Regions from separate parts of the Homo sapiens genome. Here region 1 is linked to region 2. Evidence: promoter capture Hi-C in 16 types of primary human blood cells and fetal thymus (Javierre and others, 2016). All regions are on one chromosome and are shown on one strand. Each heading gives the region's core, a stretch centred on a gene start or on the middle of the fragment in contact. The rest is flanking DNA. Distances are from core to core; before and after follow the strand shown. Region 1 has its middle 25 kb from the start of DHRS2. Region 2 holds the start of CPNE6 (copine 6).

What was found. Contacts are between HindIII fragments. The CHiCAGO score rates a contact against its expected background, and 5 or more counts as called.
Region 1: a contact is called between a fragment that was not itself captured here and the fragment with the promoter of CPNE6 in region 2, in 2 of 17 cell types (naive CD4 T cells and total CD4 T cells). The highest score is 7.5, in naive CD4 T cells.

The regions. Positions count from the first base shown.
Region 1 is chr14:23,608,179-23,613,645 of GRCh38, forward strand. No RefSeq gene overlaps it. Among named protein-coding and RNA genes, the nearest start is that of DHRS2, 25 kb to the right of the region's middle. The HindIII fragment of the contact is 2,476 bases long and covers 797-3,272 here.
Region 2 is chr14:24,069,171-24,074,138 of GRCh38, forward strand. CPNE6 (copine 6) reads left to right here and starts at 2,392. Exons shown (of 17, transcript NM_006032.4): 1 at 2,392-2,471; 2 at 3,763-3,934; 3 at 4,329-4,508; 4 at 4,881-4,955. The coding sequence starts at 3,767. It overlaps CARMIL3 (capping protein regulator and myosin 1 linker 3), which reads left to right. Exons shown (of 40, transcript NM_138360.4): 39 at 1-77; 40 at 209-559. The coding sequence ends at 234. The HindIII fragment of the contact is 6,300 bases long and covers 1-3,974 here.

The DNA of each region.
Region 1 (5,467 bases), core at 785-3,284, 460 kb before region 2:
ACTCCACTCCAGACTGGGTGACAGAGCAAGAGTTCATCTCAAAAAACAAGCAAACAAAAAAAGAATATTCTTCATATTTTAAAAATGGCTGAAAATAAAACCGAAAAGGAAGATATATCTCATGGCACATGAAAATTATAAAACACTCAAACTCCAGTGTCCATGAATAAAGTTTTATTGCAATGTGGTCATCCTTATTCATTTATATATTGTTTATGTCTGCTCTTGCAGTACAATGGCAGAGTTGAGGAGTTATAACAGAGACCATATGGCCTGCAAAGCTTAAACTACTTCATGTCCAGCTCTTTACAGAAAAAGTTTGCTAAGCCCTAGGCTAGAGTCCTCCTGGAGGGACATTGACAGGAGCTGGAAACAGGAGGAAAACCCTTCTCTCACCCTATGTCCTTCAGCCACGTCTCAGTGCCTCTTAGTAGCAGAATTGAATAGGAAGCCAGCTGGCAAGAGAGAGTCTGGGAAAGGCTGTTGGCAGTCCCTTGGCCCTCACACCACAGGGGAGGGTGGCATGGGCCCAAGAGGCAACAGGCAAACAGCACAACTTACAAGTATCTTATACTGGCCTTTTCCTCTTCTGTCTCTGCCCTCCCTCCCTTAGTAATCCTATCCACAGTCATGGCTTCTATCACATCTCTGTAGACAATGCACACATCCATGGCTCCATGCTTGAATTCTGTTATCAGTCTTGCATTTCTAACTGCCTTCTTGACAACTCCATTTAGAAGGCTTCCCTTCATCTCAAAGTCACCATGTCAATAGGTAGAATTCATATTTTCTATCAAGCTTGTTTCTTCTCCTCTGTTACCTATTTTTGTTGGCAATGCCACCATTGTCCCTGGCTTCATGTTTGGATCCTCTCTGTCTCTTTTCTCTCGTGTCAAAGCATTTAGAAAGACCAGATCTTTCTCTGTAAGACTTCGCAACTATTCTCTACTTTCCCTTCCCAGCACCATCACCTGGGGTTGTGCCACCATTACCTCTTGCCTGGATTATAGATATGACCTCATAATGGGTATTACCCTACACAAGTTTCATTCCAATTCCTCTCACACATAGTTGCCAGATTAATCTTCTGAATCATCAGATTCAAAGTCCTTTTGGTTTCCCTTTGTTTATGCATTGGCCAGAAATTCAAAATTTTATACAGTTCTGTATTAGTTCATTTTCACGCTGCTGATAAAACATACCCAAGACTGGGTGATTTATAAAGAAAAAGAGGTTTAATGGACTCACAGTTCCATATGGCTGGGGAGGCCTCACAGTCATGGCAGAAGACCAAGGAAGAGCAAAGGGACTTCTTACATGGTGGCAGGCAAGATAGAGAGCCATGCAAAAGGGGAAGCCCCTTATAAAAACATCAGATCTCGTGAGACTTATTCACTATCATGAGAACAGTATGGGGACATAGCCAAACCATGTCATTCTACTCCTGCGGTTTTGCAAGGTACAAAGTCCCTCCCGGCTGCTTTTATGGGCTGGTGTTGAGTGTCTGCGGCTTTTCCAGGTGCATGGTGCAAGCTGTTGGTGGATCTACCATTCTAGGGTCTGGAGGATGGTGCTCCACTAGGCAGTGCCCCAGTGGGGACTTTGTGTGGGGGCTTCAACCCTACATTTCCAGGCCCCGACTGCTGTGTATGGAAATGCCTGGATGTCCAGGCAGAAGTTTGCTGCAGGGGCAGGGCCCTCATGGAGAGCCTCTGCTAGGGCAGTGCAGAAGCGAGATGTGGGGAGGTACAATTCAAGATGAGTTTTGGGTGGGGACGCAGCCAAACCATATCAAGTCCCAGTGACTACAGTTTGGTTTTCCAAATTTGTTTCCTATTTCTTTCTTTCCTGTCCTCTTCCTTTCCAATACTTTCATATAGCCTCTTGTTCCTTCAGGTTCTGTGCACTTTATTTATACTCTCCCCTCTGCCAGAAATGTTTTTGGTACTTTTTAGGATTAGGTTAAGTTATGAGTGAGAGAAAACCCAGTGTAAGGGGCCCATTGAGGTTGCACCAGAGCCCCTGTGACCCGTTTAATCATCTCCCACAGCTTCTGCACATCGAGAGAAGCAGGGGCAGCCTTTAGCTGAACTAGGTAACAGCCTAGTTCCATTGTCTGAAATCTGGGCAAACTGTGAGGTGTAGTTTACACTCCAGAACTGACCTTTGGGACCAGGCTAAGGCTGGGGCTTTGCTGAAACATTCCCTTGCTTGTCCTCCTCCCTTCCCTGTCTTACTTTCCACACTCCCTTACTGGTTTCTCCTGGGAGCATTTTTTTAATTTTTATTTTTGAGACAAGGTCTCACTTTGCCACTAAGGCTGGAGTGCAGTGGCATAATCATAGCTCACTGTAACCTCAAACTACTATGCTCAAAGGAACTTCCTGCCTCAGCTTCCTGAGTAGCTGGGACTACAGGCACACATGACCTGATCAGCTAATTTTTAAATTTTTTGTAGAGACAGGGGTCTCACTATGTTACTCAGGCTGGTCTGAAACTTCTGGCCTCAAGCAATCCTCCTGTCTTGGTCTCCCAAAGTTCTGGGATTATAGATAGGAGCCATTGCTCCCTGCTGGGAGCATCTGTTTAATAAACTACTTGCACATAAAGCCTTGTCTTAGGATCTGCTGTGGTAACCCAACCTAAGACACTTGTAACAGTGGCTTAAACAAGACTGTAGCGGGCCTCATATCGTGCCTTCGTGATCAGACTGCCTCAACATTGTAGTCCACATCCTCAACATGTGCCTTCTGAGGCCAAAGATAGCTGCTTTGTCTCCAGTCATCAGAGTCATGTTCTAGACAGCAGGAGGGAGACAAAGAAAGGAGGTGGGCATGCTCCTTCCACTTGAGAACACCTCATGGAAGTTTCATCCCTGACTTCTCTATAACCTTTTATGCAGAACATGGTCAGGTAGCCGTGCCTGGCTGCAAGGGCAGCTGGGAAATATAGCCTTTATTCTCAGTGGTCAATTGCACAGCTAACATTTTGGAATATGATTACTGTGGAAGAAGAGGAAACAGACATTAGGAGACAACTTGTAGTTTCAGTTACATGCTCCTTCTCATCTCTGCCTGTCCAGAGTCTTCCAAACCCAGTGCAAATGCCACTTTCACCTCAAATCCTTCCTTGAGCTACTAGTTAAAAGTTATCACTCCCTCATGGCACTTTGTGTGCCCTTTCCTTGTGACACCGCAGTTTTTCTACCTGGCTTGTAGTTACTTAAATATGCCTTCCCCACAGGACTGTAGACATCTTTAGAGTAGAGGGCAAGCTTCAGTGAATTTCTGAGTTGAAAATTGAAATACTACAATCCCATACTCTGGAGAGTGTGGTTTTGGAGCCCGACCAATCTGGTTCAAAGGCAAGCTTTATCTTTAAACCAGTTATACAACATTCATTTGCTTATTCTACAAATATTTATTGGTGCTTCCCCTCTGTCGGGCACTATTACAGGTGCTGGAAACTTGGTGGAGAACAATACAAATAAGCACCCCACTCCCATGAAGGTCATAAAGGATGAGGGTTAAGAGCACAGATTCGGCCAGGCACGGTGGCTCATGCCTGTAATCCCAGCACTTTGGGAGGCCAAGGTGGGCAGATCACCTGAGATCAGGAATTCGAGACCAGCCTGGCCAATGTGGTGAAACCCTGTCTCTACTAAAAGTACAAAAATTAGCTGGGCGTGGTAGCACACGCCTGTAATCCCAGCTATTCAGTAGGCTGAGGCAGGAGAATTGCTTGAACCCGGCAGGTGGAGGTTGCAGTGAGCCGAGATCACGCCACTGCACTCCAGCTTGGGCGATAAGAGCGAGACTCCGTCTCAAAAAAAAAAAAAAAAAAAAAAGAGCACAGACTCCATAGCCAGACTGCCTGGGCTTGCATCCCAGCTTCACGACTTACAAGCTGTGTGACCATAGATAAGTTACCTTGCCTCTCTGTTGCTCAGTTTTATCTTCTGAAACACAGAGATGTTCAGAGTGCAACTTTTCAGGATAGTGGTGGAGACTAAGTGAGTTTACACATATAAAGTACTTAGAACAGTGCCTGGCACAAAATAAGGACTACGTAAGTGTTAGTTATTAGTATAAGCTTGCAGAGCTTACATTCCAGTAGGTGAGGAAATAACCTAAACAAACAAACAAAAAATATTAGGCAGGTGATAAGTGCCATGAAGAAAATAAAAGAGAAAAGTGGGAGAGAGCGCTGCTGAGGATCTGTCTCATACCAGGTGAACAGGGAATGTCTCTATGAGGGTTGACATTTAACAGCAATGAAGTGTTTGTGGGAAGAGCTTTCAAGGGCCAGCAGATACAGGGACTGTGAAGGCAGGCCTGACCTGGCCGGCTGGAGGCTGAAGCACGCAGGTGGAGGGGAAAGTGCAGTAGGATGGTCTGGGAAGAGCTTGGGGCCAGACACCGTGGGGGCTCTGTAAGTTGGGGAAATAATTTGGATTTGATTCTTAGTACAATGGCAAGCCATTGCAGAGTTTTAAGCAGTGGAGACTGATGTTTAAAATGCTAATGCTGTCTGCAGGTGGAAAGAGAATAGCTTGTGAGAGTGTATGAGTGGAATGAAGTGGTCAGATGAGAGAGCGCGGCGGAGATGGAGAGAAGCGGAGAACTTGATGCATATTTTGGAGGCAAAATCAACAAGATTGGCTGATGGATTAAAAGCAGAAGGTAAGGTGAAGAGAAAACTCAAGGGACACTCAAATTTTTGGCTAGAACACTTTTCGGAGATGGGGAGATGTAGAGAGAGAGGTGGGTGGGAATCAAGAATTCTACTTTGGTTACATTCAGTTGGGCAAATCACTTCAGCTCTCTAGGCTTCAGTTTCCTTATCTAGAGTAGGAAAATAATAATAATAATGTCCTCTTCTGTGGACAGAAGAGCACTGTGGTTAAGGGAAGAGAAGCCTGGGCTGTTTACTAGCTATGTGACCATGTGCCAATTACATTATCTCTCTGTGTCTCAGTTTCCTCATCTGTAAAATCAGAACAATCCTAGTACCTATCTCAAATGGTTGTTATGAAGAGTAAAAGATTTAATATTTACAAAGTGCCTAAAATAGTTTCTGGCACATGGTAAAGCTACAGTAGAATCATAGATATATAAAAACAAATAGGGTAGGCCGGGTGTGGTGGCTCATGCCTGTAATCCCAGCACCTTCAGAGGCTGAGGTGGGAGATTGCATGAGGCCAGGAATTCGAGATTAGCTTGGGCAACATAGCAAGACCCTGTCTCTACAGAAACTTAAAAAATTAGCCAGTTGTGGTGGTGCACGCCCATAGTCCTAGCTACTTGGGAGGCTGAGGCAGAATTGCTTGAACCCAGGAATTCGAGGTTGCACTGAGCTATGATCATGCCATTGCGCTCTAGCCTGGGTGACAGAGCGAGACCTCATCTCAAAATGCAAACAAAAACAAATAGGGTAGAATTGAACCTTGTATTAGATAAGTGGCTCA
Region 2 (4,968 bases), core at 1,142-3,641:
GAAGCCCAAGAGGACACGGCGGGCACAGTCCTGTGACAAGCTGGAACCTGATAGAAGACGGCCTCCTGACCCCACAGGTGCTGGTGGTGAGAGGGCAGGTCCCCCCTTCCCACCTATCTGTCCAACATGACACCCCCCGAAGCCCCAACACCAGGTGGCTGGCTGTCCCTGCCCAGGAAACAGGGCTCCCTGGATTTGTCCCCAGCAGGAACCAGTGAGCCAGGAACAGACTGACAACTGCCACAACACCCTCCTCAGCCCTCGACATGTGCCTCGCAAGGACTCAGACCCCTATCCACCCCCAGTCCCCAGGGCCCCCTGCCAGCCCCTGTCCTACAGGGGCAAGACGGCAGGACCAGGCATGGGGGAGCTGGAGGCAGGGACTAGAACAGAGGGAGCCACCTGGAGAGACGGAGGCTGTCAGTGCCTGCCTCGATACCTCTCTCTGCAGAGAGCTTCTGGGTGGGGGCTTATCTCCTCCCCCAGGAGGGTGGATCTCTGTCCCTCTATCCCCAGGGACTCTCTCCCCTCTTGTATAGAATAAAAAAACAAAATCATCGCCTGCCTCGAGTCTCTGCTATCTTCCCCATTCACTGCCTCCACAATCTGCTCTCTTCCCACAAACCCTCAGAGCTTGGCCACAGTGGAGAAAAATGAGAAACATTCCACAGGGATAGACTTGGGGTTCTGAGAGGAGCAGGAGAAAAAAACAGAGAACTGCCGAGGGAAGGGGACTGATAAGTCCCCAAGCCAAGATGGGTGTTATGCCCAGGGTCAGGGCTGAGCTTCCTGGAGAAAGAACCAAAAGGACAGAAACCAACACAAAGTCTGTCCAGCTTTTGGGGGTGTAATGGGATTGGAAGCCCCAGTGTACCAGAGGGACACGGGAGCAGTGTGTGTGTGTGTGTGTGTGTGCATGCATGCACACTAATGGGGGAATTACATGATGTTGTGTCGTCCTGGGGGCACCCTCACTAGTCAGAAGTCTCAATAGCAGAGTGGCTTGCAGGTGAACAGAAGTCTCTGTGGCATGAGGTCAGCAACTAAAGTAGCTGTCTCCCATGGTGTTCTAGCAAATACTATCTTGGCATTCAAGATCCCACTCAAAAGCCCCTTCCTCTGTGAAGTCCTTCCTGATGCCTTCCCCACTCATCCATATTGCACCCTGCTTTAATGTGCTCCCACTGCATCCTGAGCAGGTCCATAACATTGCACCTGTCACGCTTCATTGCGTATGCGTATTGGCTTATCCTCTCTCTGTCTGCCTGTCTTTCTGTTCCATATACATCTGCCTCCCCCAGGGGCAGAGGCTGTGTCTTAATCACCTGTGTAGCCCCAGCACCTGGCACAGTGCCTGACACCCAGGAGATGCTCAATAAATGGCTGCTATATTAATACATGAGCAGCTTAAGGGGATGGAGGGCGAAGGTAAATGCTCTTGCGTACTCATCGCAGACCACAATGTGCCCAAATGTCTTCATGTGTGGTTTGCAGCTCCCCAGGCAACTGCTTACTTCCCTTACTTACTGATTTCACCAGGAATTACTTGTTTTGTTTCCTTAAGATCTGTGCATGGCACAGCCCCTCCCACAAGGGTAAGGCCATATGGGTTGAATCTTGGGGGGTGTTGGGTACATTGTGGCACCGGGAAGAAGCCTTGGGAGTCAGTCCTTCAGCAGATGCCCTCATGTGACCAGGATATGAGGTTGGGTGTCCTTAAGCAATTATGTCCATTTCCTGTGTCTCCTTATAAAATGGTGGCTAGGGAACTGGACATCATTCTCAAAGCTATGACGTTCAGCAAGGTATGTGATGGCTTTTAAGGAGCACGGGAAGATCACATCCTGCTGTATTCCGGGTTAGTTTGAGTGAGTACATGTGTGACAAGGACAGCCCAGTGTTCCTGTATATGTGACTGCAGATATCCTTAGCTAGTGTAACAATGTTGAAAGTGATGTGAGAAGGGGTATGTTTCCCAATGTGTATCCGCCGGGGGCTGTAACTGTCGTGGTGTCACAGTGAGTTTATGTACTGGCGCCTGTGTGTGTCAAGATATGTGTGAGCCTGTGAGTCGTGGGTGCATGTGTCGCCATCATTTCTCTGTTTGAATGTGTATGTGCATGCCACTGCAATGTGCGCATCTCTGCGATTCTGGGTGTGGGTGTAGTGTGAAGGGGAAGATGTGTGTCACTGTGTCTGTGGGGGTCCTGCCTCTAAGCCACCCCCAGCCTGCCCTCCTCCCCCGGTTCTGTGGCTCCCTCCCAGGCTGTGGCCCTGCCCCTTCCCTCTTCTCCCTCCCAATCCATCCACGCGGGGGGAGCTGGTGCTGCGCCCCCCCCCACCCCTCCCCATCCAGGCCCCATAAATAGCAGCAGAGCCGGAGCTGGAGCCGGCGCCAGCGGCTGGAGCAGCAAGGGAGTCAGGGCCAGGGCCAGAGAGCCGGAGAGAGGAGCCCCCGACCGAGAGCCCAGGTGAGCCCACCCTTCCTCCCCAGCCCAGCCCCAGCCCAGCCCAGCTTGGCCCAGTCTCCATAACAACATCTCCTGGAGCCCGCAGAGAGATCCCAGCCCTGCCCAATCCCTTCACCACCACAAGCCCCTGCCTATCTCGGGGACCCCCAAGAACTGGGAGACTTGTGGCTGGAAGGCAGAGACCCCCCTCCCCCAGCCCAGACCCTCCCTCACATATCCAGAAAGGCACACACTGTGGGGAGGTAGATACCCAGCCAGAGAAAGGTCCCACTTCTGAGGGAGGTACAGGAACTGTCACACCCTCCTGGAAACGGACACACGACATGGGGGGACAGACACGGAGGGTGGGGCACTCAGACACACCAATGCACACTCACTCGGGGAAGCATGACATGGGATCAGACAGCCTCACCCTGAGATCTGTACAGACACAGATAGATGGACTGACCGGCCATGAACTCTGGCCGGCATACCCCTGCCTGCTTCAGCCCGAGGCTTGGTACCACTGCTGGGGGAAGGTGGCATGCGTGCATCCCACGGGCAGCATGGAGGGAGCCACGACTCCCCAAAAATCCTGTCGCTAAGAGACGGTGCCAGTGCTGCCAAGAAGTGTGAAAACAGGGGAGGTGGGGAGGGATGTGAGGCTTGTCACAGTTAGAGCTCCTGCCAGGAGCCTGAAGGAGCTTTCAGCAGAGCCCTGGTCCTGCCTCCCAGCCCACCACCACTCCTTTTCCATCAGCTAGCCAGAAGGGGAATGGGGGTAGGGAGTGGATAGGGATAGCCCAGCAGGGGACTTTCCAACCTGTCTCCTGCCCACTGCAGACTCCACTTCTGAGACCCATCCTCTTCAGAACTCCAGAGGCCTCTCCACCCCCTGCCCCACCCCCTTGCCCTAGTTTAGCTCCCTCGTGCCAAGACTGAGTGCAGCGCTGGCACAACACCAGTCGGGAAATAGCAGAAGGTGCTGAGGCGGCAGAAAGTGTAGATCAATCGATGGCCTAGGAGCCAAGACTGCCAGGAACATCCCCACCCCAATCCTTCAGCCCTCTCCAGCCCCATCCACGCATACCTAGGCCAGCAGCACAGGGCTTCTGAGCAGGAGTGGGAGGCTCAGGTCCTCTGCCCTCCCCTGCTCAGAACTCTGGTGAAGCTGAGGAAGCAGGAGGTCCGTGAGGCCCCAGGGTCTAGGGAAGGAGGTTAAGGGGTGGGGCCCAGGGACCCTAGAGGATAGACCCCTCTGCTGGCAGGTGTTCCCTTTCCAGAGTCCAGGCCACCTGCTCTGTCCCCACAGTGACATGTCGGACCCTGAGATGGGATGGGTGCCTGAGCCCCCAACCATGACGCTGGGGGCCTCTCGGGTGGAGCTGCGGGTGTCCTGCCATGGCCTCCTGGACCGGGACACACTCACCAAACCCCACCCCTGCGTGCTGCTCAAGCTCTACTCTGATGAGCAGTGGGTGGAGGTGAGAGCAGCTCAGGTTTCTCCTTAACTAACCTGGGTTAAGCTTGGGAAAGAGGGAGGCTGGGTGGGAGCAGTGAAAGCCTTGCAGGGAAATGTGTGGACTCTGCGGCGCCTTCTCGAGGCCGCTTGGGTACCCTGGAGATGGTGTCCCAGAGGGTCCTGAGATTGACCCAGAGGCAGTGGGGTTGCTCCCAAAGGCCTCATGATAGCCCGGAGGACTGAGAGTCCAGTGGGCAGGCAGCACCCCAAGCTCAGGGATCAGCTTAGGAAGAGAAGAGCTGGTTGCTGGGGACGTGGGGGCCCAAGAAGAGCTGGCATGACTAGGGCAGTCCAGGACAGGGAAAAGTATCCTCGGTTCCCAGACAGCCCTCGCCTCCCTTCAACCACTACCACAGGTAGAGCGCACAGAGGTGCTTCGCTCCTGTTCCAGCCCTGTCTTCTCCCGGGTGCTGGCCCTTGAGTATTTTTTTGAGGAGAAGCAGCCCCTGCAGTTCCACGTGTTCGATGCCGAGGACGGAGCCACCAGCCCCCGAAATGATACCTTCCTCGGCTCTACGGAGTGCACCTTGGGCCAGGTCTGCATTCCCGGCCTCCCCGGCTACCCTACCCTACCTCCATCAGCTTTGCCTCTGGAAGCCAAAAAGAGAGAAAACATGAGCTCTAGAGCTAGTTCAACCCAGCCTTGGCTCCCATCTCTGCCATTCACTAGCTGTGCAGCCTCAGGAAAGATACTTAACCTCTCTGAGTCTTAGTTTTCCTATCTAAAAAATGGAGGAGTGGTCAGAGTGCTTCCCTCTTCAGACTATTGTAAAAATTGAGCCCAACCCTAGCCCAACTCAAAGTGCCAACCCTTGCAGACACTCAGAGCATTTATTATTCCATCCCTTGTACGTGGCCAAGGCAGATGGGGATGTCACAGCTGGGTCTCCCTCCACCTCCATCCCCAGATTGTGTCACAAACCAAGGTCACTAAGCCATTATTGCTGAAGAATGGGAAGACTGCGGGCAAGTCCACCATCACGGTAGGCAAGATCA